Linked DNA regions of Homo sapiens: all the other regions are linked to region 1. Evidence: promoter capture Hi-C in 16 types of primary human blood cells and fetal thymus (Javierre and others, 2016). All regions are on one chromosome and are shown on one strand. Each heading gives the region's core, a stretch centred on a gene start or on the middle of the fragment in contact. The rest is flanking DNA. Distances are from core to core; before and after follow the strand shown.

What was found. Contacts are between HindIII fragments. The CHiCAGO score rates a contact against its expected background, and 5 or more counts as called.
Region 2: a fragment that was not itself captured here is called in contact with the fragment with the promoter of TMEM70 in region 1 in 1 of 17 cell types (total CD4 T cells); the score reaches 5.7 in total CD4 T cells.
Region 3: a contact is called between a fragment that was not itself captured here and the fragment with the promoter of TMEM70 in region 1, in 1 of 17 cell types (total CD4 T cells). The highest score is 9.4, in total CD4 T cells.

The regions. Positions count from the first base shown.
Region 1 is chr8:73,974,657-73,977,891 of GRCh38, forward strand. It overlaps TMEM70 (transmembrane protein 70), which reads left to right and starts at 1,539. Exons shown (of 3, transcript NM_017866.6): 1 at 1,539-1,835. The coding sequence starts at 1,626. RefSeq lists silencers at 1,328-1,407, 1,457-1,672, 1,838-1,887. The HindIII fragment of the contact is 7,182 bases long and covers 1-2,123 here.
Region 2 is chr8:109,551,926-109,555,160 of GRCh38, forward strand. EBAG9 (estrogen receptor binding site associated antigen 9) reads left to right here. Exons shown (of 7, transcript NM_004215.5): 3 at 1,940-2,018; 4 at 2,804-2,962. Among named protein-coding and RNA genes, the nearest start is that of EBAG9, 13 kb to the left of the region's middle. The HindIII fragment of the contact is 1,613 bases long and covers 832-2,444 here.
Region 3 is chr8:109,535,627-109,538,861 of GRCh38, forward strand. It overlaps PKHD1L1 (PKHD1 like 1), which reads left to right. Exons shown (of 78, transcript NM_177531.6): 78 at 1-1,581. Among named protein-coding and RNA genes, the nearest start is that of EBAG9UORF, 2.5 kb to the right of the region's middle. The HindIII fragment of the contact is 518 bases long and covers 1,486-2,003 here.

The DNA of each region.
Region 1 (3,235 bases), core at 289-2,788:
CATGATCATATTCTATTGATTTATTTTTATTTTTATTTTTGAGACAGGGTCTAGCTGTGTCACTCAGTGCAGTGGTGCAATCAGGGCTCACTGCAGCCTCAACCTCTTGGGCTCAAGTGATCCTTCCACCTCAGCCTCCCAAGTAGCTGGGACTACAGGCAGGTGCCACCATGCCCAGCTAATTTAAAAATTTTTTGTAGAGACAGGGTCTCACTTTGTTGCCCAGGCTGGTCTCAAACTCCTGGAATCAAGTGATCCTCTCACCTGGGCCTCCACGTAGTATTGGAATTGCAGGCGTGAGCTCCCGCCCCTGGCCACACATTATTTTAGACTATGAATTTGTTCCTCTCCGGTGCAAATAACATGTCAAATCAAAAACATGTATAGTTCTGCAGTGGTAAACAAAAGTGTGTTTCTATTACTAAGATGCTCATCCTTCAAGACTGAGCTAAATGTGAAGCCAGTCTGAAGACATTCTGAGGCAAAATTAATCATGTTCTTCTTTGTACTTCTGTGGCATTTGTTTGTTCTTTTTTTTGAGACACGGTGTCACTTTGTGGTCCAGGCTGGAGTGCAGTAGTGTGGTCTTGGCTCACTGAAGCCTCGACTTTGGGCTCAAGCAATCCTACCATGTCAGCCTCCTGGGTAGCTGGGACCACAGGCACACACTTACCATGTGTGGCTTATTTTTGTTTTAGGTTTTTTTTTTTTTTTTTTTTTTGTAGAGACGGGGTCTCCCTGTATTGCTCAGGCTGGTCTCAAACTCCTGGCCTCAAGAGATCTTCCTGCCTAAACCTCCCAAAGCGCTGGGATTACAGGTGTAAGCCACCACGGCCAGCCACATTTTGTATATTGCGGTGTCTCAATTGTATTACATTATATTCTAGCCAATTTTCAGGTATTTTCCTCCACTGTTTAAGCACTGTGGATTCCCAGTTTAATCTAGTATTTTGTATCCTCTGCTCCTAGCTCAGTCCTGGCAATAGATTCAGTACCTCTTTAACAAGTAATGAATCAATGTGTATATGGATGTGAATGATTTCCGAAGACAAATCTGGTAACACCTATCAATATTACATGAACAATTCCATTTATTTTCCTCCAACCCGATGATTCAATTAAGTTATCACTCATTTTTGTTCAAATCGTATATTCTTTCTTCTGTGCCAACAGGCTAGAATCATTTTCCGCAAAGGAAACAGTTTTTAGTGATGTCGTCCACGAGAAAAAAAAATATTTAACCCTGGCTTCTGGGCATTGTCATTCTCGTACAGCCCTCTGCCCCTCCACACTGTTATAAAGAAGGTAAAATTCTAGGAAGGAGGAGCCGCTGAGCCAAGGACAGAGCGGCGGGCTCCCAGCTCAGCTGGCGGATAACGCGCGCGGCCGGGAAGGCGGCAGGCGGGCGGCAGGCGGGCGGCAGGCGGGCGGCAGGCGGGCGGCAGGCGGGCGGCAGGCGGGCGGCAGGCGGGCGGCAGATTCTGCGCACGCGCAGGCAGCCCAGCTGCCAGTCAGGCGTCCCGGGCTGGGCATGCGCCACTTGTGCGGCAGTCGGGTGGGAAGCCGTGTCTCGCAGTCGTGGACTCGTGCAGCTGGGGCGTCCGCAGCCGCTCGTCACCCGCGTGATGCTGTTTCTGGCGTTGGGCAGCCCGTGGGCGGTCGAACTGCCTCTCTGCGGAAGGAGGACTGCATTGTGTGCGGCCGCCGCGCTCCGAGGTCCCCGGGCCTCTGTCTCCCGGGCGTCCTCCAGCAGCGGGCCTTCGGGGCCGGTAGCCGGCTGGAGTACGGGGCCTTCGGGAGCCGCGCGCCTTCTCCGGCGTCCGGGTCGAGCGCAGGTAGGGCGTCCGAGGTCTGGTGTCCCAAGTGAGGCGGGGAGGGCGGGCGTCGTGTCGGGCCTGGGGAGCCCCAGCGGCTCTTCGCGACCTCTCCCAGGTGTCCGTGGCTGGAGCGCGGGAGGAGCCCCCTCTGCGGGGCTTGCAGAAGTAGCAGGCCGAGGGCCCCGGGGTCCTCAGCCTCCGCGAGTCCAGGAGAACGGCTGGAAAGTGCTTACTTTTATGGTAGTTCCAAATCCAGAGGGTTTGTGGTGACAACTATATGTAGTTCCTTTTCTGCCCTTGAGTAGAAGCTTAGAAGTGTTAATTTGCAAAAAATTGGATGCAGCACCTGGAAATAGAACCGAAAGAGCCAGGTTAACCTGACTTTGAGCTTGTTCTACTTTTATGAGGTGGCTGTACTTTTAAGAATTACTTTGGTCCCTGGGAAAAGGGGGATGCAGATGTTAATTCTTTTATTTTGATCTGAATAAATTGTCTTCTAATTCTACTCTGTAAAATATCAGGATTGGCAAACCTGGTTAAAACTTGGAAGAAATGCTTAAAATGGAAATTGGAATCTAATTACATTTCAGCATTGAGGAATTAGGCATGCCTTTTACATTTTGAAGTGTATACACTGTGAAACTCATTTTCAGATGTATGGGGAACGCTTCTGTTCCCTTGAAATTTGATGTAGGATTTCAAGTAAATTTTATTTCTTTTTTTTTGGAGGTGAAGTCTCGCTCTGTCACCCTGGTTGGAGTGCAGTGACGTGATCTTGGCTCACTGCAACCTCCGCCTTCCGGGTTCAAGCGATTCTCCTGCCTCAGCCTCCCCAGTAGTTGGGATTACAGGCGCGCTCCACCACACCCCGGCTGATTTTTTTTTTGTATTTTTAGTAGAGACGGGGTTTCACCGTGTTGGCCAGGCTCGTCTTAAACTCCTGACCTCAAATCATCCTCCTGCCTCGGCCTGTCAAAGGGTTGGGATTACAGGCGTGAGCCGCTGTGCCCAGCCAAATTTTATTTCTTGTCAAGAAATAAGAGGACCAGGGGATACACGGTATTTACAAGGTCTTTAGAGAAAGATTTGATCTCTTTAATACTATCATATAAATATTTTAGCAGTATTTGTAAAAGGCCTGGACTTTAAATATAATGTGAGTTTGCGGAGTATTTTACTTAAATTATTTTAGTAAAATTAAATTTTATTTCTTAGAGATGGGGTCTTGCCATGTTGCCCAGGCTGGCCTTAAACTCCTGGGCTCAAGTGATCCACCTCAGCCTCCCCAGTAGCTGGGGCTATAGACGTGTTCCATTACACCAGCTAAATGTATTTATTTTTTGAAAAGGTGTTGCATTTAAATAGAATGGAAATGATGTCGTCATTAACAGTGGAGTAGAAGAAACTGTTACTATTTT
Region 2 (3,235 bases), core at 388-2,887, about 36 Mb after region 1:
GCAGTTAGGATATACTTAAGTTTTTTGGGTGTAACTACCTTATTCAGTGGAATTGTTAGGTGTTTCTGTGGCCTAAGGGTACTGTGAAAAAGTTACTTACATACTAAGAGGAGGGTATAGTAAAAGAGGAAATGGACAGCAATCAGCTCTTTTTTTAATATATATAGACATGACTTAGAGGTTACACACAACAATTTTTGCACTGCCTGCTTTCCAGAGCTTAGTCATATGGCCCCCTAGCTGCAAGGAAGGATAGGAACTGCAGTCTCTGGCTATATGACCATTTGATAGCTGCTAAATTGAACTTATTGCTAAAAGTAGAGTGGTCTGGGATTTAAAAAAAAAAAAAAAATCCAGGGTATTGCAAGAGAACAAGTGGGTGAAATGATCATCTCTGGATGATCACTGGGGCAGAAGTGAAGAAAGAAATGGAAAATTTAGGTGGTTGACTTGAAATCACCCAAGAGGATAGGATTTGGGAAGTAGAAAAAGGAGCAAACTAAGTGTTCAAATTACCAGAGAATGAGGAAGAGAATGGCCAGAAATTCACCAGGTAAAGCAACATTAAAAATGGGTATTAATTGCCAGAAGGCAGGAAGTTAAAAGAAGCATTGTGTTAACAGTGGTGATGAAATGTAGATGTTTTCTTCTTATACTTCTATTTTTTAAAATTTTCATTAAATATAGATTACTTCTAGGATAAGAAATTTTCTTGATGTAAAAATATTAAGGACATTCCTATTGGCACTATAAATTTCTGTTGTAAATGTATACATATTTAGAATTGATTGTATGTTCAGTTTTAAAGAAAACTGACCATATGTTAGGATAAGCTTCTCTTTGGTGTCTGAAGGAACCTTAGACCATGTATTTTAAAATACCAGACTTGGCTAGGCATGGTAGCTCATGCCTGTAATCCCAATGCTTTGGGAGGCCGAGGGGGTAGGATAGCTTGAGGCCAGGAGTTCAAGACCAGCCTGGGCAACACAGCAGGACCCCATCTCTATGGAAAGGAAAAACACGCTTGTATCATAAATTTCATAAAGGACTATATTACTTTTCTATTCACCCTTTAAACAAATATAGCTTTGAATCTGTAATAAAAATAGCTGACTTTATCGTTCTTAGTTCTTAGTTGATGCTTTTTTTTTTTATAGATTATTTGAAGTGAAGTAAATGACTAATTATCTCTATTACCTGCCATTTTTTGTATGTTGTGCTATGTAGCAGGCACACACTGTCTAGGGTTTTTAAATATGTCACTTAATTAAATCCAAACAACCCTGCAAAAGTGGGTTTGAATACCTGCATTTTATAGATGAGGCTGTTGAGGCTGAAAAGTAGGTAATTCTAACTAGACATAATAGAAGTAACATTGAAAACTGTGGTTTACACAGATTCCACAGCCCATGTTCTTAACAACTGAGTTATAGTACGTCCTGTTGAATGTGGTACTTTTCCTACTAATCCTTAAAAGTAAGTTACCATTTGGTTCAAACTAGTGATTTTTAAACTTCTTAATAGTTAATCTTATCAAGAAACCCCATGTGTAAAACATAAAAGCCAAGCCACCCTGTTTAAAACAGCAAAGGTGGCCCAGAACTTCACCCACAGAACCCACAGCACTCCAAGGAGCATGCTCTGAAACCGTCTTGCATTTTTATTTTTGACTTTATATTCCTCTTGAGTTTGTTTATAATTCTGAGTCCTAAGCCAAAAAGCAGTTATGTTGTTCTGTCCAAGATTTAAAAAACATTCACAGGATGTCTGATTTATGACTTTTTTTTACCATAAATTAGTGAGTAACTGTTACTAAAATCAATAATCATAAAATTGAGAAAGATCTTGTTTTATAAGCCTTCAATTACCATACATAATAGTGCTTTTACTTTGCTTGTTTTGGTGGTTCTTGAAATAAATTATTTCATTTTTGTTTCAGATCTGGCAGAGGACGGAAATTAAGTGGAGACCAAATAACTTTGCCAACTACAGTTGATTATTCATCAGTTCCTAAGCAGGTAGGTTTTTTTTGTGTGTTCTTTTGTTTTGTTTTGTTTTGAAAGATTGAATAAGTGTCCTAGAACAATATTTTAAAAACTGGATTGCAGATCATTAATAGAAATTAATTTTTGTTGTGTTGTTAAATTTATCTGGTCTGAAAATTCTATTTGGTTCTACATTTTATCTTCTGTTTCTTTGTTGACATTTTCTATTGTGTTTTCATTGGTTTCAAGTGTTTGCTATTGTTTGTTGGAGCATTTTTATAATAGCTATTTTAAAGCCTTAGAGAATTCCAACATATCATTTTGGTGTTGGTATCTGTTGATTAACTTGCCTTGCAAATTTAGATGTATTGTTTTTATATGCTGAATAATTCTGGGTTGTTTCATGAACATTTTGAATACTATGTTTTGAGACTTCATCTTATTTAAATCCTGTGGAGAAGCTTGGTATTTTTTATCAGATGATCAATCTGGATAGGCTTGGGTGAAAATGTCCAGCCCTTCTGTGAGTTGTAGTTTTAATGTCAGTTCAGTTTTCAGAGCATTTGCTTTCGTTTTACTTTGTTTTTTGTTTTTTGATGGACATAATAGAATAAAATAGAACAGAATATATCAGAATGTCTTGTATTTTTTGAACTTTTGATCAAGTTTTGATCTGTGATATGAAATGTATGTTTTCCCGTGGGTTAAAAAAGTTTGAAAACCAGTGTTTTAGAAAGCCCATTTTTCTAATAAATCATCAATGATGTGTTCATTAAGTTGCCCCTTTGTGGCTGATAATGTTGATCAATTAAATTTAGACAGATGTTGAAGAGTGGACTTCCTGGGATGAAGATGCACCCACCAGTGTAAAGATCGAAGGAGGGAATGGGAATGTGGCAACACAACAAAATTCTTTGGAACAACTGGAACCTGACTATTTTAAGGACATGACACCAACTATTAGGAAAACTCAGAAAGTATGTTAAGATTTATGCTTTTGGAGATTAAACTACTTTTTAGATTCCTATAGTTAAAATTAGGTGATACAATTCACATTTATTAGAAAGCCTATTTCTTTTTTTTTTTTTAATACTTTAAGTTTTAGGGTACATGTGCACAACATGCAGGTTAGTTACATATGTATACATGTGCCATGTTGGTGTGCTGCACCCATCAACTCGTCATTTAACATTAGGTATGTCCCTAATGCTATCCCTCCCCTCTCCCCCAACCCCACAACAGGCCCCAGT
Region 3 (3,235 bases), core at 495-2,994, about 36 Mb after region 1:
ACATATCCTCCTAAGTGAATTTGAATTAGACACTGGAAAATTTAAAAAGGTCAGTTACTATGAAGAAGGTGTAACAATATTTATATTAATCAGACAGCAAAGTAACAAACTGACTTAGAGGAAGGAAAATAGTAAAATACAAAAGACTAAGTTAGCAGATCATTTTGATATCCAGATGTGCTGAAATGATGGACACTGAGAAGAAAGAATAGACAAAACTTGGCAACAGATCTTGGTATGAAATAAATATCCCATGAGTAGTACATAAAAGCCTGGAGAGAGAGGGGAAGGATTGTAAGTGTCATAGTTCTGACAGCTGCTCTTTCATCCTATGCCTTTAAAACAAAGGGAACAAAGAAGGGAACAAAGAAGGTAGAAGCGGGGGTATGGAGGGTTGACTTCTGGCTGTCCCTCCCTGTTTCCCTTTGTTAATATATTGCTAGTAGACATGTCTACTTCTGGTTGCTGATGACATAAAATTCACCTCTATTTCTTGGAAGCACTATTCCATGTTGTGAGCTAAAGGGGATTGTACTGATCTTGAAGATAACAAATCTGCCTGCTTCAAAGGTTTCACCGATTTTATTGCTGTGTTTCCAACACATTTCCACATATGGTATGATATTTAATTTGCAAAATAAATCCGTAAAGCAGGAATTACTAACCTAATTTTGCAGATGAGAAAACTGAGGCTTAAAGTTGTTCAAGGTCAAAGTCACGATGTCCATCATGCTGTAGCTCAATGAATGAGTCTCACATTGTTTCATGTTGTTTTATTTCTACTTTCTCAATCCATGTACAAGATAGATTTACAAACTACTGTTTTATGTTGGTTGTATGAATTTCAATACATTTACTGTTAGAAATAACAAAAGGTCTTAGACTGCCAGATGCTGTTCCCATCAACTCTACTTAATTCATAATATAGCTGAACTCTGTCATAAATCTAATAACGATGTGGACATTAGCCAGAAGTATGATGTGGCTGAACCTCACCACTGAACACAAAATGAGAATTCACCTCATCTTTTCATTTGAATTTATTTCTACTAAAATATATGTATTATTTTTCTTGATTTCTAACCAGGCCCCTTCTGAAGAAAACTGGTTAACTCTAAATTGTTACTAAATTTTGAATCTTCCTGTATTTAGCAATAAAAGTTACTGCTAATTGTAATAACAATTATGAGGAAAAATTTATTTAAATGCTTCATAGAAAGTTAATTTTCATTTAATAGAAAAGAAATAAAAAATCTGCTTCAGACTGTTTGATTTCTCTATTAGGCAATTGACCCTAACTAGTATATGGTGATTTTGAGTATTAAAAAAGAAGTTATAATTTTCCAGAATATTAATGTTTATTATTTTGAAAGCAAGTAAAATTCTCCAGTAGGAAGATTAATAAAACAATTCATTAAAATTCTCATCAGAAAATCCTATGCTTTCAAATGTATCTGCTCAAAGATGTCACTCTATGTGCGGCAAAGCTTTGTTTTACTTGATCAAGAAATGAATGTGACTTTATGATCTTGTATTCAACTGTGAACAGCTGCTCATTAATAAAAAGCCATTAAAGTCCAAGTCAGAACAGCAGGTCTAAAATTGTGTTTGAGGGAAAAAAAACCCACCCTTTGATGAAAAGCCAGGGAACTGGGTTGGGAAAGATCTGGAAGCAGAGGGCTGTGTTTGCAGTCTGCTCCTACCTCCTGGGCCAGGTCAGGTGACAAGGCCAGAGTTAGCCCCAGCTGGAGAAGTCAGAACAAAGCCTATGTAGGCTTTGAAAGGGGAGAGTAAGTGGTGGGCTGGAGGTTGATAGTGTGAATAAATCAAGCTGGTAATTGGGCAGAGGCTGATCAGAAGCGTTAAAGTGAGCAAAATGGTTTGGACACAGAGCAGACAGAATTTACTATATTCCATTGAGTAAAAGAAATTCATATGCCAGGTTCTATCCCTTATGTTCCTCCCATTTGACATCTGGTGGTTTCCTACCCCCGTCCCACACAAGCTTTGGGGAGAGGACAGGACTTAAAGTTCCCTGTTCCCAAGAGGTGGTCCCTAAACCCAATCCCAAATTATTGACTTGTGATCCCAATTATGGGCTTACTATTTAACAAGTAAAGATGATTTTAAAATATTATTTTATAGGTATTACTAAAGTAAATTTTAAATTTGCAGTCTTTAGCGAGCTTTGTTTTCTGTTTTGCTATTGTGTTGGGAAACAAGTACTCAGTAACTAGCTGTTTCTGGAAAAGTATATACATTTCGTTTTGTTTCATTTGGAAATGGCAAATTTAATAAAGAAAACTGAAGAATCAGGAAAAAGAAGAAAATATCCTTGGGCATAATAAATTGTCTAAAGCAATCAACTCTTTAAGAAAAAAAATTTAAACACGTTTATATCCGAATATAGGTTATTTTGGATTTTTTTTTTTTTTTTTTTTGAGTCAGGGTCCTGCTCTGTCTCCCAGGCTGGAGTGCAGGGCCCAATCATGGCTCACTGTAGTCTCGACCTCCCAGGCTCAGGTGATTCTTCCCACCTCAGCCTTCTGAGTAGCTGGGACTACAGGCATGCGCCACCAAACCTGGCTAATTTTTAAATTATTTGTAGAAACGGAGTTTCGCCCGTTGCCTGGGCTGGTCTTAAATTCCTGGGCTCAAGCGTTCCTCCTGCCTCGGCCTCCCAAAGTGCTGAGATTACAGGCATGAGTTACCGTGCCCAGCTAGATAACTCGATTTTTTAAATCCAAAAAAAATTTAGAAATTTTATATTGAAATTTAGGCATTAGAATTCTAGAGATTAAAGTTAGAGCAGGTGTTTAAGGGACTGAAAGGGGTTGCATGGCCTTTGGGAAATGCAATTACCGGAAATGATACTGTAGTAATGCAATAGTAATGCAGTAGTAGTAGTAGCTGCAGCAACAACTGTTATCTATGAATGTTTGCTATGTGCCAGGCTCTGTGCTAAGAGAGCTTTGCAAGCATTACTACTGCATGAAGTAGGCACTATTATGGCCATTTTACTGATGAGGAAATTGAGGTGAACAGATTAAATAATTTTACCCAACTTTACACAGAACCATTCCAGAGCACGAGCCATAAACACATCTTTCCCGTCTTGGAAATTAAATTATTAATAAAAAACGTGGTGCAAATTGGAAAGAGGACGGTTGTGGTAGATTATCACAAAGTTAAGTGGGTAGGTGGTTGCTGGGTCAGGGTGGGAGAACAAAGGCAG